Regions from separate parts of the Homo sapiens genome. Here region 2 is linked to region 1. The links are contacts of gene promoters, found by promoter capture Hi-C in human tissues and cell types (Jung and others, 2019). All regions are on one chromosome and are shown on one strand. Each heading gives the region's core, a stretch centred on a gene start or on the middle of the fragment in contact. The rest is flanking DNA. Distances are from core to core; before and after follow the strand shown. Region 1 holds the start of USP39 (ubiquitin specific peptidase 39). Region 2 overlaps RNF103-CHMP3 (RNF103-CHMP3 readthrough).

Evidence for each region. The method cuts DNA at HindIII sites, captures the fragments that hold promoters and counts their contacts. A contact is called where the count stands out against the background at its distance.
Region 2: a contact is called between a fragment that was not itself captured here and the fragment with the promoter of USP39 in region 1, in 2 of the 25 tissues and cell types used here (dorsolateral prefrontal cortex and spleen).

What each region holds. Positions count from the first base shown.
Region 1 is chr2:85,613,585-85,618,352 of GRCh38, reverse strand. USP39 (ubiquitin specific peptidase 39) reads right to left here and starts at 2,167. Exons shown (of 13, transcript NM_006590.4): 1 at 1,890-2,167. The coding sequence starts at 2,157. RefSeq lists enhancers at 2,374-2,423, 2,454-2,503. The HindIII fragment of the contact is 29,292 bases long and covers 1-4,768 here.
Region 2 is chr2:86,615,820-86,621,055 of GRCh38, reverse strand. It overlaps RNF103-CHMP3 (RNF103-CHMP3 readthrough), which reads left to right. Exons shown (of 8, transcript NM_001198954.1): 3 at 587-726. The coding sequence starts at 595. It overlaps RNF103 (ring finger protein 103), which reads left to right. Exons shown (of 4, transcript NM_005667.4): 2 at 587-726. It overlaps CHMP3-AS1 (CHMP3 and RNF103 antisense RNA 1), which reads right to left. Exons shown (of 6, transcript NR_183901.1): 6 at 3,607-3,880. Among named protein-coding and RNA genes, the nearest start is that of RNF103, 5.4 kb to the left of the region's middle. RefSeq lists a silencer at 3,715-3,764. The HindIII fragment of the contact is 6,359 bases long and covers 1-4,714 here.

The sequences.
Region 1 (4,768 bases), core at 918-3,417:
TGACCTTGCGATCCACCCTCCTTGGCCTCCCAAAGTGCTGGGATTACAGGCGTGAGCCACTGCGCCCGGCCACAAATGTACTACGTAGTTTAAAGAGTGGCTGGGTGAGTGGCTCATGCCTGTAATCCCAGCACTCTGGGAGGCAGAGGCAGGCGGCTCACCTGAGGTCAGGAGTTCAAGGCCAGCCTGACCAATATAATAAAACCCCATCTCTACTAAAAAATACAAAAATTAGCCGGGCATGGTGGCATGCACGTGTAATCCCAGCCTACTTGGGAGGCTGAGACAGGAGAATTGCTTGAACCTGGGAGGCAGAGGTTGCAGTGAGCTGAGATCGTGCCATTGCACTCCAGCCTGGACAACAAGAGTGAAACTGTCTCAAAAAAAAAAAAAAGAATGTACATGTGTATCTATAAATCTACCACTTGTCAAAAACTTGAGTGGGTCTCAGATCTTACCCTACTCGCAAGCTAACAAGTTAGCCTGTCACAGTTTTATGAATGCTGATGGAAAGCATGTGACTACCTGGCCTGAAATAAAGGACAGTTTATTAGAGCAATGACAGTAGCCGGAATATAGCATTGGTGTCAGTTTTCCAAGTGAATTCCCACAAGGCAAAGTGAGGAGAACCCATGCACACAGTGAGCTGCCTTACAGGAGACGAACCCCGTGCTTAGAGAATCTGAACCATTAACCATTTTTTCAAACGAGGTCTCGCTCTGTTGCCTATCCTAGTCTTGAACTCTACCTCATCCTATAGAGTAGCTGCGATTACAGGTGTGAGCCACCACACCCTGCCCCAAATCTTTTATAAGGGATTGTGCCCTTGTCTCCTCGTTTTGTAGGGAGACACCATTTCTATCTTCCAAGGCTGCTCACTACACGAACATCCTTAACGAGAGTCCAGGAGAAAAGGCAGTCAGGCAATGGTCGCAGTACGTGCACAAACTCAAGAGACTAATGGAAAATTGTCTCCAGACTTTATTCAGCTTAAAAAGTGCTACATAATCCATACTTTAGTAGAGGTGCCTATTGCTCAAGCATTCTGAATATCTTGATTACAGAAATTACAAGACCTTAGATGTAAAAACTGAAGGAAAGCCGTGCACGGTGGCTCACGCCTGTAAACCCAGCACTTTGGGAGGCCGAGGTGAGTGGAACACTTGAGTCCAGGAGTTCGAGACCAGCCTAGGCAACATAGCGAGACTTGCTTCTCTTAAAACGCAAAAAAAAAAAAAAAAATTCTTTTTTAAAATGGAAGGAAGTAACACTTGTAAAATCAGCACTGAGCCCCCACATCGGGCATTCGATAAAGGGAAGCTGCTGTTGTTACGATTTTTGCAGTTAGAAATACCATACGTTTGGCCGGGCACGGTGGTTCACGCCTGTAATCCCAGCACTTTGGGAGGCCGAGGCGGGCGGATCACGAAGTCAGGAGATCGAGACCATCCTGGCTAACACGATGAAACCCCCTTCTCTACTAAAAACACAAAAAATTAGCCGGGCGTGGTGGCGGGAGCGGTGGTGGGCGCCTGTAATCCCAGCTACCTGGGAGGCGGAGGTAGGAGAATCGTTTGAACCGGGGAGGCAGAGGTTGCAGTGAGCCGAGATCGCGCCACTGCACTCCATCCTGGGTGACAGAATGAGACTCCATCTCAAAAAAAAAAAAAAAAAGAAAAAAGAAATACTATACGATTATTGAGAAGGGTACTGTCTTCATCAGAACAAGTCGAACAGCAGAATCGTCGAGTCTGGATCCCTCCTCTTCTCCACCCCAACCCCACCCCTCCCCCAACTCCGGCGCAGTGACCTAGCGGAAGATTAGAGACAAGAAAAAAGGACGCGAAAAAAACAGGCTCTCGCGCCTAGCCCGGCCCGGCCCCGCGCACCTCGCACCTCCCGCTCAGGCTCCGAGTCCTCATCGACCTCGCGCTCCCGCTTCACCCGCACAAACGGGACAACAGAAGCCGGGGCCTCGCGCGCGCTCGCCGGCTCGAACTCCCGCTTCACGCGCACAGGGCTGCCCCGGGAGCTCGCCGCCTCAGGCTCCCGCTCCCGATCTCGCTCCCGCTTGACGCGACCGGAGCTGCCCCGCGACTCAGACTCTCGCTTCCCGCGAGTGGAACCGCGAGACTCCCGCTTAGACCGGCCGGACATCTCCACTACCGGCCGAGTCGTCCAGCGCAGGCGCCAAGCACGCTCGAGCGCGCGGCACAAGGCCAATCAGGAGAGGGGCTGGTAGCGAGCCCCGAACTCTCTACGAGTCGCCACTGGGGACAAATCACGCTGCAGAAAATTTGTGGGCGGTGCTGTTCCTGCACTGGCTTCCTCTCCCCTTAGAACCTTCTGTGGGCCTACTGTCGTTTACAGTTTACTGAGACGGGAACCTTTACTGGCGACAGTTTTCTGGATAAAAGCTGTCAGGCCGGGCGCGGTGGCTTACGCCTGTAATCCCAGCACTTTGGGAGGCCGAGGCGGGTGGATCACCTGAGGTCGGGAGTTCGAGACCAACCTGACCAACATGGAGAAACCCCGTCTCTACTAAAAATACAAAATTAGCCCGGCATTGTGGCGCATGCCTGTAATCCCAGCTACTCGGGAGGCTAAGGCAGGAGAATCGCTTGAACCCAGGAGGCGGAGGTTGCGGTGAGCCGAGATCGCGCCATTGCACTCCAGCCTGGGCAACGAGCGAAACTCCGTCTCAAAAACAAAGAAGCTGTCATTCGGCCCCAGATTTGTGCCTCGAAACCACCACCGTGAGGTCGTTTCCCACAGTCTCCGCGGCTTGGGGGCTGACAATCCTGCACAGGAAAACTAGGCGACATTCCCAAATCATCCCCTTGACAGCCCTAATTCTACTTTTAGAAGGTTCTTGGTACCATGAAAACGCAAATGCCCGGTAAAGGCAGATTTACCATGAAGCTAATAAAGCTCTAACCTCAGGACCTGCCTTGAACTTGTTTGCTTGTTTGAACCGTTCCATTGAGGTATAATTGACATACAACAAACTACATGTTTAAAGTGTGCAATTTAGGCCAGGCGCTGTGGCTCATGCCTATAATACCAGCACTTTGGGAGGCCAAGGCGGGCGGATCACCTGAGGTCAGGACTGGAGACCAGCCTGGCCAATATGGTGAAACCCCATCTCTACTAAAAATACAAAAATTAGCCGGGCGTGGTGGCACGAGCCTGTTAACCCAGCTACTTAGGAGGCTGAGGCAGGAGAATCGCTTGAACCCGGGAGGCGGAGGTTGCAATGAGCCGAGATCGCCCCATTGCACTCCAGCCTGGGCAACCAGAGTGAAACTCTGTCATACCCACACCACACCACACCACACCACACCACACCACACCACACCACACCACACCACACTGTGTGCAATTTACTGAATTCTGACTTGCGGTATATGTCAGAGGCGTTTCAACCAGACCAACTCCATCTTGAGTGAGGGTTAGGAAAATGAGGCTGGGCCTTGACAGGCTGCATTCCCAGGAAGTTAGGTATTCCTAGCCTAGAGATGTCTACAGTTAAGGGAACAGAGAGATAATGTTTACTAAACAGATCCAGACTTGGGAGTGTCCTAATATCCCAATATCTGGAGAATAAAGGCATTCCTAATTTTGCTTTAAAGATAATATTTCTTCTTGCAAAATATAATAATAAAATTAATCCTTTATCACAAACCCTTGTAGCAGAGCACATCTCCCCATGATCTTTTTATCCTATATATAAACAAGCATTGTAGCCATGGTGGATGCGTTCCTCCTTTTACTTTCAGGAACGCCCTATTCTGTCAATGGAGTAGCTGTACTTTCACTACTTTACATTTTATTTTTTTGATACAGAGTCTTGCTCTGTCACCCAGGTTGGAGTGCATTGGTGAGATCTCGGCTCACTGCAACTTCTGCCTCCTGGGTTCAAGTGATTATCCTGCCTCAGACTCCTGAGTAGCTGGGATTACATGCACCTGCCACCATGCCCGGCTAATTTTTGTATTTTTAGTAGGCACAGAGTTTCACCATGTTGGCCAGGCTGGTATGGAAGTGCTGACCTCAAGTGATCCGCCCGCCTCCCCTTCCAAAGTGCAGGGATTACAGGCATAAGCCGCGACACCTGGCTACTTTACTTTCTTAATAAACTTGCTTTTACTTTGCACTGTGGACTCACCCTGAATTCTTTCTTGCACAAGATCCAAGAACCCTCTGCTGGGGTCTGAATAGGGATCCCTTTCCTGTAACATATACACCCATGAAGCCATCACCACAATCAAGAGACGGGATCTGGGCCCAGTACGGTGGCTCACACTTATAATCCCAGCACTTTGGGAGGCCTGAGGCAGGAGGATCACTTGAGGTCAGGAGTTCAAGACTAGCCTTGGCAACATAGAGAGACCCCCCCCATCTCCACAAAAAAATTTTAAAATTAGCTGGGCATGGTGGCATGCTATTCAGGAGGCTGAGGCAGGAGGATCGTTTGGGCCTGAGAGGTGGAGGCTGCAGTGAGCAGTGATTGCACCACTACAATCCAACCTATGCGACAGTGAGATCCTGCCTCAAAAAAATAAAAAAATAAAAAAAAATTTAAAGAATCTACCCAGCCCCAAAGATATCCTCTTCCTCCCAGAGAACCCCCACAAAAATCAACTGATCTCTCGGTCACTATAGATTAGTTTGCACTTCCTAGAGTCTCATATAAATGGAATCATACAGAGTCCCTGGCCTCTTTCACTGGGCATATTTATTTTATGATCCATCCATGTTGTTGAGC
Region 2 (5,236 bases), core at 286-2,785, 1.0 Mb before region 1:
GTTTTCCTTTCCTTTTTGTTTAATGATACAAGCTCTAAATTTATAATATAAATTTGTATATGAATATGGAGTTTGTTCTGTCTAACAGGTAAAGTTCTAACCTCCAAGTCATACAAACCCTGTTGCTCTTTTAAGCAGGGCTGATGGCAAATTCTGTGAACCCAATTCTACATCTTTTAAGTAAGAAGCATATAAGCCATACTGTTTAAAAATGTATATGAAGCCTGTATGTGTCATTCATAAAACTAAATAATTAAGAAAGTTGTGCCTTTTTGGAGTGGTACAAATTTGGTAAGTTCCTAATAATTATGTGATAACCCCACTAAAATATAAGCCCTGTTCTATAAGAGATGGATTTTTGTCTATTTTGTTCACTTTTCCCTGATGCATAGGAAGTTCTTACTACATATTTATTGAATGTATGACTCCTAAGTGGGTATATCCAGGTTCTTCTAGTAGTTCTTGTCTATAAAATACAATGAAAGTACAATATCATGATTCTTAACAGTGTAAAAAATAGAATTACTGAAATTGGGAATCTAGGATTCTTGCAACCTTATTAGTGTTATTCTTTTCCTTTCTTCAGGTGACTTGATGGAGGGTGAGCTCTATTCTGCTCTCAAGGAAGAAGAAGCATCCGAATCGGTTTCTAGTACCAATTTCAGTGGTGAAATGCACTTCTATGAGCTTGTGGAAGACACAAAAGATGGCATCTGGCTGGTTCAGGTATGAAAAGCAGTAATAATTTGATAATTCGAGAGCCCTAAAAAAATTATTTTTACCAAAATAGTATGTACCAGCCAGTGACACTTCCGTGTCCTTGTGTCTTGTTTCTCACACATAACTCAGTTCTCTTAGGGAGGCTCCAGTATCTTCTTAAAAAGGTTTTGGAGACTGAGGAAGATGAAAATTGAGTAGTGGGAAAGAGAAAGATGGGGGATGGGGGTCAACTTTTTGTTTAGAATCCCCAGAAGCAAATCTATTTTAGTTATTGGACCTTTGTTGAATTGAGAAATACACATATATATCCCTTTTATTTAGTGATTTGCACTGTTTCTCTTAGTTTTTATTATCTCCAGTTTTTAATTCAGTGGCCTGAGTAATTTTTATATATAAGTAAGAACCCTAAAGTAAAAGTAAAGGAATCATTGTATTAGGGAAATAGCCAACTTTGTGACTATAGAGGAGCTGTTGTGGAAAATGGTGGGGGTGCTCATTACGTAACTCAGGATGATGAGATTATAATTTTTAACCCTTGTTTTTATGATAGCAAAACTGTGAGACTTAATTAGCATATTAGAATTTTAGAGCTATGATGGACCTTAAAAATATTTTATGCTTTCCAAGATGTAATTTATGGTGAGTGGGCATGCATTATCATTTACATATTTTAATGTAAATTAGAAAAATTATATTAACATAAATTTCATAAATTTTGCTTAGGACAGGACTAAAGTTATTTACATTTTAAAACTGTACATTCAAAGTGACATATCAAGTAAATTAACAGCGTGAATGTGGCTAAAATTATTAATGTAGTCTGTGAATGGCTGAAGCTTGGAAATTATATCAGACTAACCCTTTCTGAGACTCTGAGAGGTGAAGTAGCTTGCCCAAGGTCATGGAACTAGTTGGTAGTATTGAACCAGGATGAAACCCAGGTCTTCTGATTTCTTGACTGGTACTCTTATCATTTCACACTGGAGTGGGCAAAGTTTGATTCAGGGCATGAAAATTAAAACAGTTTCTTCATATTTCTTTCTGAGAGTAAAGACTGCAAAATATGGTAGGAAAAGCTATGAGTTCAGAGACATTAGTTGCAGGTCTGGTACTGTCGCTGTTACAGGTCTGGTACTGTCACTGACTAGCAGTATGATTGTAAATAGGTATATTTTTCTGTTGCACGTGGCCTCAAATAAATACATATACATCTAAAAAGGATAAAATGGTACTGTAGTCCACTGTGCTAAAGGGTTGAGGTTTGGGAATTCTTCCAGAGATTTACATTGTTCATCCATGGCCTTTCTTTATTGTATCCTTCCTATTGCATTTGTCCTTTTACCTTCCGGATAATCTAATTCAGTAATTTTTAAGTTCAGCAATGGGAGAGAATGTGAGAGTATGAGTGTAGTCTATACATTATCTATTTAAATTTTAGTTTATTTCTGTGTCAGTTGGAGTTGAAAAATAAGGTGGAGCTTTTTTAAAGCTTTAATGTATAAGTATATTGTTATTCTGTTTCTTTTCTCTGGTACTTATTTCTAATAGTCTGATTGAGAAAGACACTGGTTTTGATAATTTTAGATTTTATTACTGAGGATGAATTGAATAGCCAGTCCCACTGCCCTGCTTTCAGTGTCTAAATGTCACCCACATTGAATGATCCCATGGAAATAAATGGTGAAGATGTTGCACACCTTTGAAACTTGGAAGGGCTATGTCAAAAGTCTTGAGTTCTTTTGCTATATAGGCTGCTGCCTATAGACAACAAATACATTCTGGTTCAATAGTTAGCAGTATGTTCTTGGCTTGTAAATGATCTACTGTTTTTGATGTCCTGTTAAAGATATCCATGAATTAAGCTCCTGTAATAAATATGTGACAGAATTCATCAAAAGTTTATTCAGTTGTGGGTGTGCCAGGCCCTGTTCTGGGCCCTGAAGATATACCAGAAACACACACCAAGCTAAGGCCTTGCTCTGTCAGGCAGCTCACATTCTAGTTGGGAGAGGCAGACACCAAATAAATAAATATTTAATATAACATCAGTTAGTGGAAAGTAGTAAGAAGAAAAATAAGCAGATTAAGGAGATGAGAGTGGCAAGGAATTCTCTGGTAAGGTGACAAATGAAGTGAAGGACAAATAATGATAGTAAATGGTAGCATTATAAATTCTAGTTGCTAAATTTTTTTTCTCTGAAAATATTTTTAAACCTTATAGGTATTAATAGTTGAAAAACAACTCTTTAAAAATAGAATGTATTTCTGTGGTTTTTCTATGTATGGAAATAATGCAGTAGGACACCTGCTTAATTTTTCCAGTGATGCTCAAGGTTTGCATTGACCACCACTGTCTGGCTTGTGTTCCTTGAGGCCAGTGGCTTACATCTGTCAAATGGCTGGCCTGGTCTGAAAGAACAATCTCTGGCAGGACAACTGAGAAGAATGAGATTGAAACCCTGTCCTTGGCACTGTGAACTAGCCAGCTAAGCCAATCAGCACAGCCACCTTGGTTTAAGCCCTTAAAAGAGGGTTGTACTTTTTAAAACTATGCTTAAAATTGAAAATATCTACTAGAAACAGAAGAGAAATATTGTCTCCATTGCTTGCCATTCTTTCAGCTCAGATCATATATATTAATCTATTGTAAAGGATAACTTTCAAGAATTGTTTTTAACAATTTGAATTGTTGTTATTTTCTGTTTACAGTAGTCCCCCCTTATCTGAGGGGGATGCGTTCCAAGACCCCCAGTGGATGCCTGAAACCGTGGATAGTACCAAATCCTATATAGTCTATGTTTTTTCCTATACATACATACCTGTGATAAAGTTTAATGTGTAAGTTAGGCACAGTAACAACAACAACTAATAAAAATAGAACAATTATAACAGTATACTGAAATAACATTTATGTAAATGTGGTGTCTCTCTCTCCGAATATCTAATTGTATGTAGTATTTTCGGACTGCAGTTGACTGCAGAAAGTGAAACTGAGGGTAAGGGGAGACCACTGTATTTTAGAAGAAGCTGACTAATTTGTTCTCTGTCATTTGTTTTAAGTCTATGAGGAGTGTTTTCATAAATGAAGATGCACAGATGGCAGCCAGTTCAATCCTCTTCATATTTTTAAGCTTTTCCAGGTCCATGTTACGTATAGTCTCTGTAATGTGAACAGAATTTATTTTAGTTTTCAAGGTAGCAACATACATATGACATCTTTACCAATGACACACTATGAAATACATGTAGAACCAAGTGCTCTTTTTTCTAAGTTATTCCTAACATTGTTTTTCTCCTTTGTCCCTAACCCAAGCTCATATCTTTCATTAGCTATTCATTTAACAGTTTTGTGGATTCTTTGGCCCCAGTCTTCATAGCATTACAAATAGAAGATGGTTACTTTTCTTTCAAAAGACCCTTGGTCAGAGAGGCAGATGGCACAGTGGATAGGCTTCTGAAGTGGAGAAGTTAGCATAATTTATGGGTTTTATGGATTTATCCTCCTCCTAACATTTCTGTTTCTCCGTTTTGACTTTTGTCATAGTTCAAAGAAGGACATATTTGTTCCCTACTGGCTGTGTTACATCATATGGAATTTAAAGTCACTGGAATTGAGGTAGCAGTGAGAAGCATCATATGATTTAAAATAAAGCTTTGGGTCAATATTTACTGAAGTATTACATCAATATATTTCCTGTTTGGCTGACAAGAGTTAATAGCTGATTTTAAACTTGTTTATCTTTGCTCCTAGACAAAAGTTTTGTTCGAGGAGATTCTAAATTACGTATTTCTTTCTTGATACTGCTATGGAGGTGAAGCACATAGCAAGCCACTTTATCTTATATTTTGTATTGGTAAAAAATTTTATAAATTCTATGTAAGAATACAAAAAAATTAAAAGACCACTGTTTTTTGTCAATCACTTGTCCTTACTCTTAATGGTTTTATATAGTTTGCATGTATATACTAGGTTGGCTTATGATTTTGAAAGTAGAGACTCCCTATTATAATGAAATACTGAGAATGCAGAAAATATCATAGCACAATACTCTCATTGTTCCAGGGAGTTATGTTACTTAACTAAACCTGGATGTCGTTGTATGGAGATTAACAGTATTAAAAGGGGTATGCCACATGGTTTGATCAGTAATAAACCTCACCTCTAAATAATGGGCATTTTAAAATGCACTGAATTAAACATCTTTATGTCTGACTGAGGTCAAGAACATTAATATGCAGTTGCTTAGCAGGGTACCATTTATGCCACTGTTTGTCCAGAAAACATCTTGGTACAGGTTGCTGGGGAAGGGACTTTGATTATAACAGAAATCAAAAGCTTAAGAGTTTCCTTTAGAGACTCTGTGTAATCAGAACTAGAAGAATGAGTTATTAAACTGTAAGAAGCTGAAATTGTTTGGTTTGACATAAATACTTATTGAGCACCCATATGAGTTGGGCACTGTATTAGCTGCAGGGACTACAGTGGTGAGCAAGTGTGGGGATGCCAGAGGCAGAT